7 separate regions of the Homo sapiens genome follow, and all the other regions are linked to region 4. Evidence: promoter capture Hi-C in 16 types of primary human blood cells and fetal thymus (Javierre and others, 2016). All regions are on one chromosome and are shown on one strand. The core of a region is centred on a gene start or on the middle of the fragment in contact, and the rest is flanking DNA. Distances in the headings are between cores, read along the strand shown. Region 1 has its middle 110 kb from the start of LINC01747. Region 2 overlaps LOC105372567 (a long non-coding RNA gene). Region 3 overlaps NXT1-AS1 (NXT1 antisense RNA 1). Region 4 holds the start of THBD (thrombomodulin). Region 5 has its middle 72 kb from the start of LINC01747. Region 6 overlaps NXT1-AS1 (NXT1 antisense RNA 1). Region 7 holds the start of LINC01431 (long intergenic non-protein coding RNA 1431).

Region 1 (2,700 bases), core at 91-2,590, 260 kb after region 4:
GGTGATTGTGTTAGGCTGTTCTTGCGTTGCTGTAAAGAAATATCCGAAACTGGTAATTTATAAAGAAAAGAGATTTAATTGGCACACCGTTCGGCAGGCTGTACAGAAAGCATGGTGCCAGTATCTGCTTGGCTTCTGGTGAGGCCTTAGGAAACTTACAATCATGGTGAAGGCAAAGTGGAAGCATATGTATCACATGGTGAGAGCAGGAGCAAGAGAGCCAGTGGGGAGGTGCCATACACTTTTAAACAAACAGACGTCACAAGAACTCACTCACTACCACAAGGACAGCACCAAGAGGATGGTGTTAAACCATCCGTGAGAAATCTGCCCCCATGATCCAATTAGCTCCCACCAGACCCCACCTCCAACACTGGGGATTACAATTCAAAATAAGGTTTGATGGAGACATCCAAACTGTTATCAGTGATTCTGACCTTAATGCCTGGAGGAACACATGGCCTGCCTCACACCAGAAGACAAGAGACCTTTACAAAGATGTCCTGAGAGCCATGTTCTGCTGATGAATTCTGCACCTGCAGCCGGCATTGCTTCCTAGATTCAACCTGAATGCGGGGCTTCCATTTGGTTCCTTTTGTGCCTGGTTCTCAGCCAATACTTATGGTTTCACTACAACTAATAATTTCCATTTTGTATGAATAAAAACAGCACTTAGGATGATAAATGTTTATTGAAAGACTCAAATTTTCATTTACTCTACAATCCTGCAAAATAGTCATAGTATGCCCATTTTAGAGGTAAAATTATTCTCAAAGAGGATAAGTGACTTGTTCAAGATTATGTAGCTATAAATAAAGTAGTAAAGCAAAATTATTTAGTAACATATAGAATGCTAACTAACAATAAAATGTGTAACAGGAGTGCTCCTTTTTCATGGGGTTTCATTCTACACAGAGGATAATTAGCCTCTTAGACTCCCCACCCCTGTCCCTCATCCCCGGATTTCATATTCTCCTGTTCTTACTGGAGCACACATCAACCATGAAAATTTCTTGGGGAAAGTCCTGAAAACTCCAAAACAAGAGCCCTTTGAAATCTCCCATGATCCTTCACTCAGCAGTTAGACATTCACTTGACCTCACTCTATTCTGAATTCTCTTTAGGGCTCAAAACTTGATGGCTATGTTTCATATGATGTTGATCCCAGGCTTTTATGAAAACTTCCTCAAGATGTTGGGTAAGACGTTACTACTTCCAAGAATCTGTCTCCTGTCTGAGCAAAGAAGGCCTTGAATTCTTTTCCTGCAGGGGATCTGAGCTTGGCTCATGCAGTTAGAGTAGGATGAGGGACTTGCATTACTAAGGGTCTGGCTTGCACACAAAGAGAGAGAAGCTGACGGCCTGTGGCAGCCCTCAGGAAGTTATCATGAGGTGTGCGAGTGGGGGAGTCTGATTTCAACCCTTCTTTGCACAGGTAAGGAAAGGGAGATGACAATGCAAAATGACTCATCCACCACCAACAACAACTTGGAGGCAGAATTAGGCTCAGAGTTCCAGAAACTGTACTTCCCACTGCATGCTGGTGACAGGCTCACACTTGGGACTTGACCTGTTGAGGTTACTTTTTTCCCTGCATCAGTCAAGATATCATTGCCTTAGCAACAATATGTTTGGTCATTTGTTATGGTTATTGGTAGAATATTTTTACTTTTTTCTTTCTACTGGATCACTCCCAACATCATGCAAACATCTGGTGATTTCTCTTATCTTGAGAAAACCCTGTCTTAGCCCTATATTCCCCTACAAGTGCCACCTCATTTCCTTGCTGTCCTTTAAAAGAAATCTCACTTTATCTTCCCATTTTCTCTTGAGTATGCTCAAACAAAGGATATTCGAGTCAACTTGAGATGCCCCTGCCACTCAATCAATCATGTCCTACTTCTGGAGCTCCAGGCACTGTTTTAGACACTGGAGACAAATTAGTCTTTTGCTGATGACATCCATGCTACTAAATCCACAGCCAGGGCCCTGTTGTCACCTTCTTGGCCTGTCGGCATGAGCTAGTGCAGTGAGTCATGCCCTGCTCCTCAGCATTTCTGACCCTCGCATATATCTCCTGCACATCTATATTTATGTTCTTAGGAGATGTTCTTGGAAATGGAATTATTATTACTATGTGAGAAGTTACCAACATTCATTTTCTTAGCAAAAGGTAAAGCCGAATCAATACTACGTATTTGGAGAAAACTTAAATTCTAAGACATGTTCTCAAGACAGTGTAGACTTACCCTAATCTCCACAGCTGTCTATAGCTATGATACAATAACACCTTATGAATCAATGTATAATAAGGTTCTGTGTGGATTCAATAAGGTCACCATGGATTCAATTTTCTTCACTATGTGAATAAAAGCAAGAAAACAAATATTTGCATTTAGAAATAACTCTTACCTCACAAGCAGGAATAAGTAGGGTTTTCTAATGCTCCTTGGTAAGGAAGTATGAGGTCAGAAAGGCTGGGTCCAGCTCTTCCTCAGCTACTTATTAGATCTACAGCCATGAAAGAGTGATGACTCCTTGGCATCTCAGTTGTCCTTATCTTAAATGACGAGGTTGGACCAAATGGCCAAGGAGCAAAATTTTCGTTCAGCTATGAGAGGCTATGAGTCTACCAGAAATGATAATTTTCAAAAGCAACTCATTTGGTTTCTTCTACAGTTGAGTCCACATCAACCCAGT
Region 2 (2,700 bases), core at 18-2,517, 280 kb after region 4:
ATCGGCATTCCTCTCCACTTGGAAAAGTGCACATCTCTACATCTCTGTGTGCCTTTCAGGACTTTCTATCCATTTATCATTTTCCTTTATTCCCATAGTGCTTTGGTCAGTGTTTCTTGGATGTCCACAAGGAAACTCTTCCTCTTTGAAGTATTACCTTCTCCTGCCCAGTCACCCTGCTGACGTGGGTCAGAAGAGCAAAGAATTTCAAACATGTTCACCAAAGCCTGGGATTATCTCTTTAGCTTTCATTTTAGAAACTTCCCTCCCATTTGTTTCTTATTTCTTCATAGCTCCTATGAATTGAACACATAAGCATGCACACAAATACACAAACACACAGGCACACACACACACACATGTGACACTCTCACAGTAATGCAGACACACATAGACACACATGCAGAATTGAGTGTGGAATGCATGTGTTGTTGGGGAGTGTGGGCTGCTTGCTCAAGCTAGCAGCCGCTTTCCACAATGACCCCACTGACCCTGCTCTTTGGGAAGCAGCATTTCTGCCTGCTAACTGATACATTCCTCTTCCAATGGATATTCTATCTCACACTGCCATACTGCTTACCACTTCTGAAAACTTGGTGCAGATTAGCTCCTCAATCCAAAATGGCCCTGTGGGAGAGGTATCAATGCCTCCACTTTTGTGTGCAAAGCAAACAAGTTTCAGTGCACTGAAGTCAAGTAGCAAACCCTACTGCTTGTCTTCTGGACACTTAAAATTCAAGTACAAAGCTGAGCTCACCGTAACTTTCCCCAACCCAGTATCTTATTTCTTGATGTTTCCTGTTTACCATATTTACCCAGTTGCTCCCACCCCAAGCTGGGCTGGCAGGTCCCCCTTCTCCCTCAGCCCCACATAAGTCCAGCAGCAAGCCCGGTGGATCCTTCCTTCAACAGGTGTCTCACACAGGCCCGGGTCCCTTCTGCTGATGTCTCCATCCTAGAGCAACCCAGCACCACCTCCTGCTACTGAAGCTGCTCCCTAATTAGCCTCCCTGTGCCCACTCCCCTCTCCATTGTTCTATATACAACAACCGAAATGAACTTTTCAGACTGGGTGTAAGCTAAGTTAAGCCTCCCCTCTGCATAAACCCTCACCGGCCTCCCTCTGCTCCATGAAAGCTCCAGTCCTCACCATGGTCCCAGAGGCCCCCTGTGGTCCAGTCCCAAATCTATTACTGGCCTCTTTACTCCATCTCTTTAGTTCGCAAGGGAATGAAAATTCCCTTCCAGATTTTCCCACCTGCTCTTCCTGGGGACTTCAGTCCTGGAACTCTGGTTCACACACTCCTCCCTCTCTTCTTATGGTTCACTCCCATGCCCCATTCTCAGAGGCCTCCACTTAGTCTTGTGCCCCCAGAGAGGTTTTGTGCCTCCACAGCGTGTTTCCAGAATTGCAGGTGCACTTTCTCCTCAGGTGCAAGGCCCCACTGTTCTGTATGCAGTCTGTGCTCAGTGGGCCTGGAATGAATGATGGGTTCAAAACCTGGAAATGTCTGCCTGTTTAGATGACACAAGAGGCAGCCCCCAGGAAGGCAGTGGCTCGGAGGAGAAGGACATCAGCCTGCAGGATCAGAGGGAAGAGACCCAATCTCTTCCCTGGCCTCCTATATTTCTCTCAATCCAGGGCAGCTGCAGGAGGGAAGGAATGTGATCACATAAGGCAAGATGTGTAGGGAGACTAAAGACCTGCTTCAAAAGTATGAAGGGGCGTTTCTGGTTGGAGGCCAGCCATGGTTTTCAGCAGGAAAAGGAGGTATGTGTTAACCTACTAATGAGCTTATATTCCCTGATGCTGACCCTGATGTGCACCCCAGGCTGCCTATATTTTCCACTTTACAAGAGTGTTTGGGCATCATTAAAACAATCCACATGTCATTAACCAAGAGTACACTAAGTGCCAGGCCAGTCCTTCACATTTCAAATAAGTTGTAAAACACTCCCCTTTTCCTTTGGGGTGTAGAAGCAGACTGTGGACCTCAATTCCCTCCTCCATGAATTAATGGATGTCACTAGATGGTCTGCACACTGCTTCCTCTCCCCCATACTGGGTTCTTCAGATTTCCAGCAGGCTGGGACGTGTGTCCCTAAGATGTGACACGGGTTCTGCAAGGCTTCCACAGTGTGCAGTTCCATGGATAAAATATCTTCCATGAAGACTTCTAGAAAACAATAGTGCATTGTTTCTACCCTCCCCAAAGGACTGGAGTTTCCCGATTTTCTCTAGAGTCCTTTGTTTTGCTGTTGAAACAGTCTGTAATTTACCATTTTTCCTCTTTCCTCTTATCCTCCAGATTTCTCCATTCTCAGTAAGACATTACTGGAGCAGTTGCCAGGAAATCCTGCTTTGAGTGCACTCACTTCCCGGCCCTAGGAGAAATGTGGTCAAGTTAATCATTCACTTTTCCAAGCCCTTCTGCAATCTTCCTTCAAGAAAGGAGATCAAACCATTCCCTCAGTGCTGGCTTTGAGTTTTCTGATCCTCATAAGGAGAAGACTAGGCTAAAACCATTCAAACGTTGACTTTGCCACCTCTTAATGAAGAGCCTTCATCCTTTCCTAGTGCAGACATTCATATCTCTATTCTTAGAGAGAAGTTCTAGCCTCACGGATGATTATCAGGAAACATTTTTTTGTCTTCCATGTTAATTGTGGAAGCTTATCTCAAGCTACATTTTATTAAGA
Region 3 (2,700 bases), core at 11-2,510, 270 kb before region 4:
GGTTCTTCTTTGACCTTTCCTTACAGCAGCTTGCTGGAATGCAGGCGTGCTGGCTGGGACTGAACCACCCTCTGGGACTGTGAGGCAGCAATGTTGGATGGCGGGGAAGCAGGCTGGAAGAAAATTTAAGGTCTCCATTACCAGCCTCAATCGGCCTATCTCTATACTTGGTTTACATTAGAGAGAGAAGCAACTGTGTTACTGAAGTCATTGTTATTTGGGAATTTTGGCCCCATGCAGCTGATCCTAATTAGCTACATCTCTGATATAGTTTCCTGCCCCTGCCCTTACCCAACCCCCTCATTTTTTATTTCCAACATAGCAACCACAGTGGTTCTTTAGAAACTTGTCAGTCCCCCCCAGCTCAAACCCTCCTTTGGCTTCCCGCTCACTCTGACTATAAGCCAAAATCGAATCAAAGCCAAGTCCCTGCATGGCATGCACCTTCCATCTCCCCACCTCATCTTCTCCCCCTTGTACCCTTGTTCACACCAATTCAGCTCCAGTGCCCTGTTTGCTGTTCTCAGAGCAAGCTGTGTTTGCGCCTTTCCCAGGGCTGAGGGTTAGAGGTTAGCTGTTCTTGCAGTGGACGCTGACAGGGCTGGCTTTCTCTTTTCATCCTAGTTTCTGCTCAAATGTCACCTCATCTGAGAGACCTTCCCTGACCCTCCTACCTAAAACAGCTCACACCTTCCCCATCCCTCTCTAGCTGAGTGCCTTTTTTCTCTACACGTGATAAGGACAGGAGACAGGGAAATACTGAGAAGTGGGCGGTTCCCCAGCAAAGATCCCACCCTCAAGCCTGGAAACCCGTGGCCCTAAATGGGAACAGCCCTTCCTGTTTTCAAGCCCAAAAGTTGCCTTTTGGCCTGCTGTGCCCCCCTATCCTGTACTTGTACAAACCCCAGACCCTAGGCTTCAGAAGCAGACGAGGGAACGAGCAGAAGAACAGAAGAACAGCAGAATGGCATGGCAGAGAGAAGAAAGGGACCATCTGAACGCCAAGAGAAATTCAGCTGGGGGAGGTCAGAGAGGAGATAGACTGCAGGACAGCCAAGCTCCAGGGGAAGATCATCTTCCCACTCCATCCCCTTTCCAGCTCCCCATCCATCCCGCTGAGAGCCACCTCCACCACTCAATAAAACCCTGCATTCACCATCCTCAAGTCTGTGTGTGACCTGATTCTTCCTGGATGCCGGACAAGGACCTAGGTACCATGAGGGCACTGAGCTGGTTAACACTTAAGCTATCTGCAGGCAGCACAGCTAAAAGAATGCATGGTAACACATGCCTACTTGGGCTTTGGGAGTTGCAGGCACCCACCCCTAGAAGCTACCATGGGGCTGGAGCCCCAAGGTGCTTGCCCTGGCTCCTGCACCTGCTTGTCTGCATGCTCCCCTTCCTGTAAGGGGTTTGCACAGGTGAGGTGGCCAAACAGATGAGCCACACCCCTATTGCGTGTCATGTGAGGAGGTTCAGGGAACTCTTCCATTTCACGTGGACTTCCCACTGAAGTTGTATATTCATTTCCTTGTGTGCCGTCCCCTTCCTCTCCACTAGAGGGAAAGTTCTTTGAGGCTGGGCTAGCCTCCGTCTTGTGTGCAGCTTTATCCGCATTACTCAGAGCAATGCCTGATGTGCAACAGGTGCTCAGCTAGATGAATGCCGGAACAAATAAGCAGCGTGAGAGGGGCTCCTGGCTTTTATGGGGAGGAAGACACAACAACCGTGGAGAACCAGGATGCTTGGACCAGATCACTGTGGAGTCTGGGATCTTGTTTCCAGCTGGCCAATTTTTATTGAAAAAGGGTCTTGCAGGCCGGGCATGGTGGCTCAGGCCTGTAATCCCAGCACTTTGGGAGGCTGAGGCGGGTGGATTATTTGAGGTCAGGAGTTCAAGACCAGCCTGGCCAACATGGTGAAACTCGTTCTACTAAAAATACAAAAATTAGCCAAGTGGTAGTGGCATGCAACTCTAATCCCAGCTACTCAGGAGGCTTAGGCAGGAGAATTGCTTCAGCCTGGGAGTGGGGAGGTTGTGGTGAGCAGAGATGATGCCACTGCACTCCAGTCTGGGTGATAGAGTGAGACCCTGTTTCAAAAAAAAAAAAAAATAGATAAAAATGTTCTTGCAGATCTGAGTCAAAATAATTCAGAGTTCTTTTCTTGAATAAATATTTAGTTCTTCTGGGTCATTGCTCTAAATCAGTGGTTCTCAAGGCGGGACATTTTGCTCCCAGAGGACATTTGACAGTGTCTGGAGACAGCTGGTCACACTGGGACTGGGGGTGCTGCTGGCATTGAGTGAGTAGATGTCAGGGGCATTACTTAGAAAATACTTCAATGCACAGGACAATACCACACAATAAAGAATTACCCAGCCCCGAATGTTAATCATGCTGAGATTGAGAAAGTCTGGTTTAAACATCTCATGAAATAACAGGATTCAAATCATATCATATGCTGCTGGTATAAATACAGAATTCTGTGAGATTCTTCAAGTTCAGGAGAAGTGGGAGGAAGACTATATTTTGCTTTCAGGATCATCAGTCCTTAGTTATTTACAAGTGTTTCCATAAATAGATCAATAACCCAACAAACATTTACTGAGTATCCCAAGTGTGTGGCGTACTGGTTTATTGCATTATTATTTCTTTCTCTCTCCACCTCTGCTCCCCTCCACACCCCACCTCTGGGCCT
Region 4 (2,700 bases), core at 154-2,653:
CGCAGCGGAATCCACGCTGAGCTGCCCGGGAACGGAGCTTCCAACCCCAGAAGGAGGACTCTGTGCTCCTACACCTTAACCCTTTTTAGCCCGAAACTTCTCCAACTTCCTTGGCTTTGTTTAGAGCTCGACAGCGCCGCCCCCTGGCGCTCGTTGTGAGGACAGTAGAGGAGAGAGGCAAGGGTGTTTTTAAACAGTTTGCCTCTCACCATTATGGGGGCGACCCGAGGGGGAGACCCACTCTTCCGCATTCCCGGTAAGTGAACCACCGGAAGAGGTCGAAAGTGACGGATTCCCATGTCCTCCTCCAGCCCCCCCCCCACCCTGCCCATCCACAGGACGGTGGCTCTTCAGTGCCCTTTGCCGAGCAAGTGGCGTTTCTATGCACGTGGGTATCAATTCGGACTCTGGACGAAATGGAAACCTCCTTAGCCGACCCGGGTGGGATCAGCTGGGATCCTGCGCGCTCCCCTGGGGGGTTGCCAGCCACTCTGTTGGGGTGCAAGAAGCACCATCCTTCGGAAGCTGGGCCGAAACTGGCCAGGCTGACTCGCTCCCACGCGCCCGCCCCTACCCGGCGCCGCAGCAATTCACCTGCCACCGCCTCTGAGCCGGGTCCGGACTTCGGCGCCCTGACAGTGTCCCCGCGACTTCCCCACCCGATGAGATGGGGTCTGGCGTTGGCCAGTGCGTGTCCAGGGACTCGCGGGTCCCTGGCCAGCCATGGGGCAGAGGGCGCTGGTGTTAGGCCAGTCTTCCCCACCCTGCCCCGTCACCCCAGCCACACCCACTGTCCTGTGAGGCCAAGCGCGCTCCGCTGGTTTCCTGAGCCAGGCACCTTGGCCGCGGACAGGATCCAGCTGTCTCTCCTTGCGATCCTGTCTTCGGGGAAGTCCACGTCCTAGGCAGGTCCTCCCAAAGTGCCCTTGGTGCCGATCACCCCTCCCAGCGTCTTGCAGGTCCTGTGCACCACCTCCCCCACTCCCCATTCAAAGCCCTCTTCTCTGAAGTCTCCGGTTCCCAGAGCTCTTGCAATCCAGGCTTTCCTTGGAAGTGGCTGTAACATGTATGAAAAGAAAGAAAGGAGGACCAAGAGATGAAAGAGGGCTGCACGCGTGGGGGCCCGAGTGGTGGGCGGGGACAGTCGTCTTGTTACAGGGGTGCTGGCCTTCCCTGGCGCCTGCCCCTGTCGGCCCCGCCCGAGAACCTCCCTGCGCCAGGGCAGGGTTTACTCATCCCGGCGAGGTGATCCCATGCGCGAGGGCGGGCGCAAGGGCGGCCAGAGAACCCAGCAATCCGAGTATGCGGCATCAGCCCTTCCCACCAGGCACTTCCTTCCTTTTCCCGAACGTCCAGGGAGGGAGGGCCGGGCACTTATAAACTCGAGCCCTGGCCGATCCGCATGTCAGAGGCTGCCTCGCAGGGGCTGCGCGCAGCGGCAAGAAGTGTCTGGGCTGGGACGGACAGGAGAGGCTGTCGCCATCGGCGTCCTGTGCCCCTCTGCTCCGGCACGGCCCTGTCGCAGTGCCCGCGCTTTCCCCGGCGCCTGCACGCGGCGCGCCTGGGTAACATGCTTGGGGTCCTGGTCCTTGGCGCGCTGGCCCTGGCCGGCCTGGGGTTCCCCGCACCCGCAGAGCCGCAGCCGGGTGGCAGCCAGTGCGTCGAGCACGACTGCTTCGCGCTCTACCCGGGCCCCGCGACCTTCCTCAATGCCAGTCAGATCTGCGACGGACTGCGGGGCCACCTAATGACAGTGCGCTCCTCGGTGGCTGCCGATGTCATTTCCTTGCTACTGAACGGCGACGGCGGCGTTGGCCGCCGGCGCCTCTGGATCGGCCTGCAGCTGCCACCCGGCTGCGGCGACCCCAAGCGCCTCGGGCCCCTGCGCGGCTTCCAGTGGGTTACGGGAGACAACAACACCAGCTATAGCAGGTGGGCACGGCTCGACCTCAATGGGGCTCCCCTCTGCGGCCCGTTGTGCGTCGCTGTCTCCGCTGCTGAGGCCACTGTGCCCAGCGAGCCGATCTGGGAGGAGCAGCAGTGCGAAGTGAAGGCCGATGGCTTCCTCTGCGAGTTCCACTTCCCAGCCACCTGCAGGCCACTGGCTGTGGAGCCCGGCGCCGCGGCTGCCGCCGTCTCGATCACCTACGGCACCCCGTTCGCGGCCCGCGGAGCGGACTTCCAGGCGCTGCCGGTGGGCAGCTCCGCCGCGGTGGCTCCCCTCGGCTTACAGCTAATGTGCACCGCGCCGCCCGGAGCGGTCCAGGGGCACTGGGCCAGGGAGGCGCCGGGCGCTTGGGACTGCAGCGTGGAGAACGGCGGCTGCGAGCACGCGTGCAATGCGATCCCTGGGGCTCCCCGCTGCCAGTGCCCAGCCGGCGCCGCCCTGCAGGCAGACGGGCGCTCCTGCACCGCATCCGCGACGCAGTCCTGCAACGACCTCTGCGAGCACTTCTGCGTTCCCAACCCCGACCAGCCGGGCTCCTACTCGTGCATGTGCGAGACCGGCTACCGGCTGGCGGCCGACCAACACCGGTGCGAGGACGTGGATGACTGCATACTGGAGCCCAGTCCGTGTCCGCAGCGCTGTGTCAACACACAGGGTGGCTTCGAGTGCCACTGCTACCCTAACTACGACCTGGTGGACGGCGAGTGTGTGGAGCCCGTGGACCCGTGCTTCAGAGCCAACTGCGAGTACCA
Region 5 (2,700 bases), core at 123-2,622, 290 kb after region 4:
CATCAGAGCTTCTCGCCTGAGGCGGGTGTCCGTTGGCATGTGAGCAGTGAGCCCAGGACCACTTGAGATGGGAAAGGCAGAGCTCTCAATCTTTGGCATGGCCTTCTCCACCCATCCTGACCCCCAAGGGGCAGAGAGAGAGGTGGAGGGAACCGAGAAGCAGGAGCAGCCAGCCCCCTCTGCGAAGCTCAGTTCACACCCAGAGCCAACCTGGCTCTGTTGCCTGGGTGGGTCCCAGATCCCTGGGCTCAACCCTTTAAACCCATATACTCCAGAGGTTTACAGATGGGCGGGATTGCTCTTCTTCCAGGGCTTCCCATCTCTCTTTGCACCGTGAGACCGGGCTAATTTTGTTTAGCGGCTTTAAGAAGAGTTGGAAGATGTTCTGCACAATTTTTCAAACTGAAAACTCGACTACAGGGAATTTCTAGAGACCAAACCCCTGCAGGGCCTTAACCACAAGTGATTGACAGCTGCGGGCTGTGGCTCCTCTGGCTGTGAATGGTACCCGAGTTCCTGATCGTCCCTGTGAATGGCAGCAAAGTGAAAACCAGGACATAGAAAAAATAGGTCTGCCCTGGCCACTGCTCCCCTTTGGAATTCTTGGTTCTCTTGTGTCACCTTCAATATATCCATGGAATGTCTAAGTTGTTTCGTTTGGAAAACAAATATAGAAAGAAATGGAATCAAATATTTAGTGAGCAGGAGAGTGGATACTGATAGTCATTGGAGCTAGTCACAAATACTCTGGATTTCCTTCTGGGCACATAGGGAGGTAGAATTTGAACGCCCTTTTTGCATTAGAGAAGACCACGTGCTTCCTTTACTGATTGAAATGTGAGCAGAACATCACATGTCTCTCCTGGTTGGCAGCTTTAAGGACTAGCACATGACTAACTGTGCCTCTTCCCTATCTCCGCAGAAACATCTGTTGAGATGAAGCCTCTGTCCTTCTAAGAGATGAAACCTCTATCAGCTTAGGTCCTTGAGTACCTTATGATGGGCAGAAACCCCCCACCTCATGCTGACCTGTGGTGGACATACATTGTGAGCAAGAAACAGCCTTTGTTGTTTGAAGCCCTGAAATCTTGAGGTGGTCTTCACAGCATGGCCTCACTTGTCTTCCCTGAAACAACAACAAAATACCAAGTACAATACTGTGGGTCCTTCTCATCATGTCTGGACTCCTGGGGAACAAGTAAGGAACCAACACCATCCGAGTGCAGCCGTGGAACTGCCTCCATTCAAACCCAGTCTTATTCTACTCTATGGGCATAAACTTTTGTGGCCCAGAATGATGTGAATTGAATACTAACTTCCCTAGTTCTGAACACTTTTTGTTACTATCTGTGAGTTTTCTGTCTGTTAGTTACTCGAATGACAGAGTCCTCAACTAGTGATTTCTAGGGAGATTTTCCTTTCCTCCCATAAGCTCAGAGAGGATTTCTCCACCACCCCCACCCCTGACACTGGTATCTCCACTTCCAGGGCACTTTGGTATCCATCATCTGGCTTTCTGTTTTCTGAAAGCATTGCTTTCCCTGGCCAGCAGGCTCTGAGTTTTTTCTCATTGTCTGCATGCCTTGCGGCATAGTTAATGCTGATGGTCTTTCAATGAGAAAAGTAACCTCCAGTGTGATGTCTAGCTGAGTACGTACTTTCTTTTAGCATTTGGACATTGTCATTAGGCAGCCCCTGCCCCTCCCACTGCCCTGCCTTCCAACACCTTTTCCCTATGCCTCTCATTATGGCATCAGATAGAGAGGCCCAGAAGAACTCAGATGACTAGCTTCAAGATTCAATTCTATTCAGCAAGGGCACAGGCTTCACCATCAATACATAAAACTCAGTTGTATTTCTAGAAACTTGCAATAGACAATCCAAAAATCAAATTTAAAAAATAATTGCATTTATACTAGTATAAAAATGAATAAAATATTTTGGAATAAATTTCACAAAAGAAGTGCAAAACTTATAATGTAAAAGGAGAATTTAGAATGCTAATGCTACACATAGTCTTAACTCACCTCTTGCCCTGAATGCCTTCTTAAAATAAGAAACCTCATTTTTTTAATGATGGAATTCAGATGTCTTAATTAATCATGCTTCTCCTGTCAGTAAATTGGAAGTTGATAGACAAATACTGTCAAAACTACTTCTATATTGTTGGTGACAGTGGATGGAGCAGGAGATAATTTACTCAGGAAGTTCTTAGCTTTTGCAATTAATAAAAATTACTAGGTTATTTGGAGATGACATAAAGTTAGTTACACCAAAACAATTGTCATTAGTTTTAATGACTACCCTTGGCTTAATCCTTACCTGCAAATCACTCTGATACTGGTCAGACCCCACTCAGATCCCTTATTGGCCAGTGTGCACAGCCTTCAGCTGCCAGGGAAGTCAGCTGTCTCAGCTTCGAGCTACCCCCATTTTGGAAAATTGTCATTGGATCATGGAAGCATCTTAGGAGATTACAGCCCATCCACCCACCCCCAATAAACAGTGACTGGCTCAGGGTACAAAGGCCAGCCCCTCGCAAGGTGAGACTGTGGTGCAGTTTGTTCCAAAGCTCCCCCAGGGATCAGGGTAAAGCCAGACTGCAGCTCGAACCTGCTCCTGTTCAGCTCCTTCCTGTCCCTCTTCCTTCCCTCGCTGCCCTTCTTTGGAGAACCCTGCCCCAACATCACTTGAAGATGG
Region 6 (2,700 bases), core at 18-2,517, 290 kb before region 4:
CCTGTAAAATCAGGGTACCTGCTCCCTGATGTTGGCATGTGGATACCTGAAGAATGCCTGAGTAGTGGGTGCAGCTCTTGTGGCACAATTACCCCAACTCCACTCCCATCTTCTCTTCCTCTCTTAACGGGTCACTGACTTTTCTGGTCCTGAAACACACATGCTCCTCAAAGGGACTTGCCTGGGGCACAACTCTCACTCTGCAGTATCCCTACTTGTGAGCTCCCCATATCCTAGACTAGGGTCCCAGACCCGAGGCCCTCCATAATAAGACATGAGCTGGGTTCCCACCATTCTCCCCCGTGCCATGTTTCGGCCACGCGGAATCCATGCTGCTTGCCGCAGTCCTTAGGCTGCCCTCTCTGCCTTGTGTACCTTGCCCCCATTTCTGCACACATTTCCGCTATCCTTCAGGGACTGGCTCAGATGCCACCTTCTCTTTACAGCCATCCCACTTTGTGGAAAGGTCTGTGGTGTTCCCCCCTCTGAACATTCCTGTGCCCCTTTTGTGGCATTCATTTCTCGCTCTCTCCCCAGTGTTCGGCCAGGCCGTGTGGGCCCAGGGCGAGGCCCTGGTTTGCCCAGCATCAGCAGAGACGTTTTAGTGATGCATGGATCTGAGGGCTGGTCTGTGTGCGGAGAGAGGCTGCTCCCAAGTGGGAGATGCTGAGGTGCTTGGCAAAGATGGGACTTGAGAGAGGCCTTGATTGATGAGTGGGCTTTGAATAAGGAATCAAAGAGTCTTGAGAGCTCAGAAGTGAGCGGCAAGCACTTTTTGTCTCCCCCTGCAGCCTGGGAAAGCTGAGTGGAGCAGACAGTGAGATACCCTCTTCACTCCTTTCCAGACCAGGGTTTTCTGGCCACAGTCTTGGACCTTACTCATGGCAGGGCAGGAATGCCCAGAGTTAACACCCAAGAGCATCCTTCAGTAAGGACAGATGGGAATTGGAGGGTTCCAACCCTTCCAGTCCCTCAGGCAGGACATCTCTGAGGCACACCCCGCATCATCCCGGAGCTCCCCAGGGACTGAGCCAGGCACCTGCAGTGCTGCCCCTGTACTGGCTTCCCCCTGCCCTACCTCACATCCCCATACCCCAACAGGTGCCCCTGGGATCACCTCTCAAATAAGTGGCTTGCAGTGCAATTGTTGTCTCAGGGGCTGCTGCTGGGGACTCTGTCTAAGCTAGGGAGCAAAGAAAGGACTTTCTCTCACTGTTGAAACACCTGAAGAATGTCTAGATGGGTTTTCCTGGTCCCTTGAAGGGTCAATGCCTTGGCTAACAGCTCTCTTTTGGTGCCAGACAGTAACAAATCTAATGCAAACTACAGTTCTCAAAGTGAGGGAGCGTCAGAATCCTTGCTAACACTAGGGTGCCAGAGCCTTAGCTTCAAAGTTTCAGACATAGCAGGGCCAAGGGAGGCCAGAATTTGCATTTCTAACCAATTTCTAGTCATACTGGAAAGCCGGGACCACACTTTGAAAACAACTGCTCTTGACTAGAGAATAAAAGTAGCCTGGGTTGAAAAGTGCTCTGCAGCTTTTTTAATGAAGTAAATTATTATTTTACACTCTTCTGCAATTAGTTCAGCCTTGACTGTTGAGCTTAGTTTTCCTTTTTTTTTTTTTTTTTTTGAGACGGAGTCTCGCTCTGTTGCCAGGTTGCAGTGCAGTGGCGTGATCTCAGCTCACTGCAACCTCCACCTCCTGGGTTCAAGCAATTCTTGTGCCTGAGCCTCCCGAGTAGCTGAGACTACAGGCATGTGCCACCTTGCCCAGCTAATTTTTCTATTTTTAGTGGAGATGGGGTTTCGCCGTGTTGGCCAGGCTGATCTCAAACTCCTGACCTCAGGTGATCTGCCCGCTTCGGCCTCCCAAAATGTTGGGATTACAGGCATGAGCCACTGCGCCCAGCCAGTTTTCCCGCTTTTGAAGCTGTCTGATCTGTCTTGCTCTTCAAATCTGAATTGCCATTCACAGAAGCAGCCACACGAGGGTGGTCTAGCCTTTGACAAGAGCCGCTCTGCTTGCGTTGTAGACAGGATCTGAGTGACACCTTTTCTGATCAAGAAACCAAAGTGTTCCTTCCCTATATCAAACATAGGGCATTTAAAAAGTCCAAGATAATCTCCTTTGTCTTGACAGGTGGCTGCTCAGAGAGGCTTTTTTGTTTTTCTCTAGGATATTTTAGAAACGGTTTGGGAAAGCAGAGGTCTCTGCCTCTCCAAAGCAGCACAGCTTTTAGTGTGGTTCTATTTCAAATTCTGAGGTACTGTCTCAAAAATGCTTCCTGGTGAGCATTTTGGTCTAATGGCTGACTTTGGCACTTTGTCCCGGGATGGTTCCGAGGCGATGAATGCACAGTGTACAATGGGATGACCGCGATGGCATGTGGGGGATCAGCTCAGGGTGCCGGCGCAAGGCCCCAGGCAGCCCGTTCTTGCCAGCCAGTGCCTATGACCAGCGAGGGGTGGGGGCATCGAGAAGATCCTGCCCCTCCCCACGACCCTACCCCTTCTCCCGTGACATCAGAGTGTCATCCCAGGTGGAATATTCCCAGTATCCCTTCCTGCTCCCAGCTGTGGGCCCCTGGAGGGCACTCCGGGTGATGAGGATTCTCATCCCTGCTGAGTTGGAAAGGGGCACCCTGACAGGAGAGCTGGCCATGCCCCAAGCCTCCCCAGCCTTGCCCTCTGCATTCC
Region 7 (2,700 bases), core at 128-2,627, 310 kb before region 4:
TTTTTATTCTCTGGCAGCCAAACAAGCACTGGCCTCTAGATAAGCAATATTCAAACAATGTGCTTTTCATCCACCTCCACATGCTGACTGACACGCCCCCTGCCCCAGCCCCACCACTTCCACAAATAATTACTGCTTTGATTGGACCAGAGACTGACTGCAGTAACTTTTTCCTGATGGGAAACAACCGAACAGGGGCTGATTCTGGCGGTTTACAGAGGCTGCACACAAGTGCATCGGTGTCCTGAAAAGATCTTTCAACTTATAGGGTCTAAATGTAATACATGAATACCTGTAAATGCTAAGAGTCCACCCCAAAGTAAACATAGGTCACCTGTAACATGCACGTTTGTCCAGTAAGCATGGGTCAGGACCCGTTTCATGAATATTCATAGCTCTTCCTGTGGCCTGTTCATATGTGTACTTGGCTAAGTCCTTCAGCTTAAATTCCTGTCTTAGGCCCCCTTCCCTCCAGCTGCCTGCCTTTTGAGCTTCTGCCAGAAGCTATGCTTCCCAGCCTGTCAGAAGGGCCACCTTGCAGGTTATCACCGTTTAAAGAAATAAAGCTCTCCTTTCTATGTTTGTGATCTTTTTTTTAAATAATACAAATAGACAATTCACTTGACAGTGTGAATGGCATACTTCACTGACAATGGAATACTATAAAAACAATAATAAACCACTGATAAACATCAACCTGACAAAGTTAAATATAGTGTTTCATGCTGTAGAACTCTGCACGAGAAAAGTACACGGGAGTGAACAATTGTTACGTAAGGGCGTTCACTGCAGTGCACTTACATTAGTGAAACTTTGGAAACAATCTCACCTATAAGGAGATGGCCGAAGAATTTGATATATCCAAGCACTGGATTATTATGCCGGTCATTAAAACAATGTTTAAAAATATGTGTAATAGCTTGGGGAAATGCTCACCATGTTATAATGAGTAAAGACGGTACACTATTTTACATAGGGTCTGATGTGATTTGAAAACAAATCTATAGAAATAGACTGGAAAGAAATGTATCAAATTCTAAACTGCACAAGGAAGAACACTGACGCACGCGCAACGCCGGCGCCCTGCCCACTAGGCGCCCTCGCTGCCCCTCACCTGCACAGCCGGCGCACGCCCACAGGCTCGTGAGGGAGCGGCCGGTGGGTCAGGCTGGGCGGCACTCCTCGCCCATTGGCTGTCCCGGAGTCCGGCCCCGCCTCTCCCCGCCTTCTGGAGCCGCTGGTATAGCTCCTTCCAGGGCTCCTTGGAGACGGAGGGCGGGGCTAGGGCGCCGGAGTCACGTGGTCGCGCCACCGCGCGATTACTAGCTGTCAAAAGAGTCCTCAGAAGTGTCCTGAGCGGTCGCAGGGTAATGACGTCGGCCGTATCGGGGATGCTGGAACCTGCGGTTGAGTGAGAAACCGGCGCCACCGCCTGCGTCTTGGTCTCGGGCTGGTGGCCAGCGGGGTCTGGGCGTGGTTTTACCCAGCTCCTTTGCGAAGCTGCTGTCCTTTCCTCAACGTTACCACCCGGCTGGGCAGCCTACCCTCGGTCAGTACGTCCTGGCAAGAGCGCTTCGGGCGTGGCGTTCGTGTCGCGGGGGCCTCGGCTCAGAAGCGAGGGAAGAGCAGCCCTCAGAGGAGCGGCGACCGCGCTTACCGGGAGCCCGGGTTGGGAGAGGGCTCCCCAGGAGGGGTGTGAGCTCCGAACGAGAAAGAACGCCACCGCCTCGTGGGGTCTCTTCCTAATGTGCAGATTCCAAATCTCTACAATGCTGCAAAAGAGGTTACAGTCCACATCAAATTAAGCATGCCCTAAAGGGCAGCTGGGGTTCAGTTCAAGAGTTGAGTTTTAACACACACCTTTACCTGCCTTAAAATTGGGCAAGGTATCACAACGTTAAACCATTTCTCACAAGGCTCGTTGGTGATGTTTAAGATTTTTTGTTTGTTTGTTTGTTTTTTGTTACGGAGTCTCGCTCTGTCGCCCAGACTGGAATGCAGTGGCGCGATCTTGGCTGACTACAACCTCCGCCTCCTGGGTTCAAGCGATTGTCCTGCCTCAGCTTCCTGAGTAGCTGGGATTACAGGCGCCTGCCACCACGCCCAGCTAATTTTTCTATTTTTAGTAGAAACGGGGTTTCGCCTTGTTGGCCAGGCTGGTCTTAAGTTTTGCATCCTGGCTCCCTCCTCTTACCTAGTCCCAGCCTCTTGTCTACAGGACAAAGCAACTTTCTGCAGTTTTCTGTTTGCTCTTTAGAGAGACGGGGCCCTAATTTGGCAAAGTGGTAGGGGAGACAGGGCTGGTGTTTAAGGTCGACCAAAGCAACATCTAAATCTCTGCTCTTCCCCCAAATTGTCCAAATTAGCAGCAACAGGTGTGCACCTTCCAAGCTTGCAACAGACCACATTCAGAAGCTTGATTTCTTGTTGTTCTGGGAATATCTGGATCAGAGGTAACATGGTTCACTAGGACTCCTCAGCTTCACCCAGTGTCCATTTCACCTCCCCCGGCCTTCCAATGTCTCTTCTTGCAGATTTCTCCAAGCCACTCTCCCCGTCATCTCCTCCACCCCCAGGACCCAACTCCTGCCCCTCCCACCCTAGCCCCTGTTCTCCCTGCCCACCTCCTACCCCACTGGAGTGGCCTTTCATCAAACCTAAACCAAAGAAACCAACAGACCTTGCTGTCACCACTACTCC

Evidence for each region. The method cuts DNA at HindIII sites, captures the fragments that hold promoters and counts their contacts. A CHiCAGO score of 5 or more calls a contact.
Region 1: a contact is called between a fragment that was not itself captured here and the fragment with the promoter of THBD in region 4, in 4 of 17 cell types (megakaryocytes, neutrophils, M1 macrophages and 1 more). The highest score is 10.1, in megakaryocytes.
Region 2: a contact is called between a fragment that was not itself captured here and the fragment with the promoter of THBD in region 4, in 3 of 17 cell types (megakaryocytes, neutrophils and endothelial precursors). The highest score is 6.7, in megakaryocytes.
Region 3: a fragment that was not itself captured here is called in contact with the fragment with the promoter of THBD in region 4 in 8 of 17 cell types (monocytes, neutrophils, M0 macrophages and 5 more); the score reaches 13.9 in monocytes.
Region 5: a contact is called between a fragment that was not itself captured here and the fragment with the promoter of THBD in region 4, in 3 of 17 cell types (neutrophils, M0 macrophages and megakaryocytes). The highest score is 6.3, in neutrophils.
Region 6: a contact is called between a fragment that was not itself captured here and the fragment with the promoter of THBD in region 4, in 9 of 17 cell types (M0 macrophages, M2 macrophages, M1 macrophages and 6 more). The highest score is 25.8, in M0 macrophages.
Region 7: a contact is called between the fragment with the promoter of LINC01431 here and the fragment with the promoter of THBD in region 4, in 9 of 17 cell types (monocytes, M0 macrophages, M2 macrophages and 6 more). The highest score is 35.4, in monocytes.

Annotation. Positions count from the first base shown.
Region 1 is chr20:22,790,864-22,793,563 of GRCh38, reverse strand. No RefSeq gene overlaps it. Among named protein-coding and RNA genes, the nearest start is that of LINC01747, 110 kb to the right of the region's middle. The HindIII fragment of the contact is 3,169 bases long and covers 1-2,700 here.
Region 2 is chr20:22,773,217-22,775,916 of GRCh38, reverse strand. LOC105372567 (a long non-coding RNA gene) reads right to left here. Exons shown (of 3, transcript XR_937350.3): 2 at 2,281-2,385; 3 at 1,701-2,177. Among named protein-coding and RNA genes, the nearest start is that of LINC01747, 89 kb to the right of the region's middle. The HindIII fragment of the contact is 2,816 bases long and covers 1-2,675 here.
Region 3 is chr20:23,319,418-23,322,117 of GRCh38, reverse strand. The region is part of intron 1 of NXT1-AS1 (NXT1 antisense RNA 1); the gene reads left to right. LOC105372571 (a long non-coding RNA gene) reads left to right here. Exons shown (of 3, transcript XR_937379.3): 3 at 909-1,165. Among named protein-coding and RNA genes, the nearest start is that of NXT1, 30 kb to the left of the region's middle. The HindIII fragment of the contact is 8,680 bases long and covers 1-2,700 here.
Region 4 is chr20:23,048,375-23,051,074 of GRCh38, reverse strand. It overlaps THBD (thrombomodulin), which reads left to right and starts at 1,403. Exons shown (of 1, transcript NM_000361.3): 1 at 1,403-2,700. The coding sequence starts at 1,571. The HindIII fragment of the contact is 6,749 bases long and covers 1-2,700 here.
Region 5 is chr20:22,755,817-22,758,516 of GRCh38, reverse strand. No RefSeq gene overlaps it. Among named protein-coding and RNA genes, the nearest start is that of LINC01747, 72 kb to the right of the region's middle. The HindIII fragment of the contact is 3,832 bases long and covers 1-2,700 here.
Region 6 is chr20:23,339,992-23,342,691 of GRCh38, reverse strand. All of the region lies in intron 1 of NXT1-AS1 (NXT1 antisense RNA 1), which reads left to right. Among named protein-coding and RNA genes, the nearest start is that of NXT1, 9.4 kb to the left of the region's middle. RefSeq lists a silencer at 2,019-2,068. The HindIII fragment of the contact is 6,381 bases long and covers 1-2,700 here.
Region 7 is chr20:23,356,804-23,359,503 of GRCh38, reverse strand. LINC01431 (long intergenic non-protein coding RNA 1431) reads left to right here and starts at 1,377. Exons shown (of 3, transcript NR_109884.1): 1 at 1,377-1,549; 2 at 2,367-2,453; 3 at 2,535-2,700. RefSeq lists a silencer at 1,042-1,231 and enhancers at 1,282-1,671, 1,862-1,951. The HindIII fragment of the contact is 4,137 bases long and covers 1-2,393 here.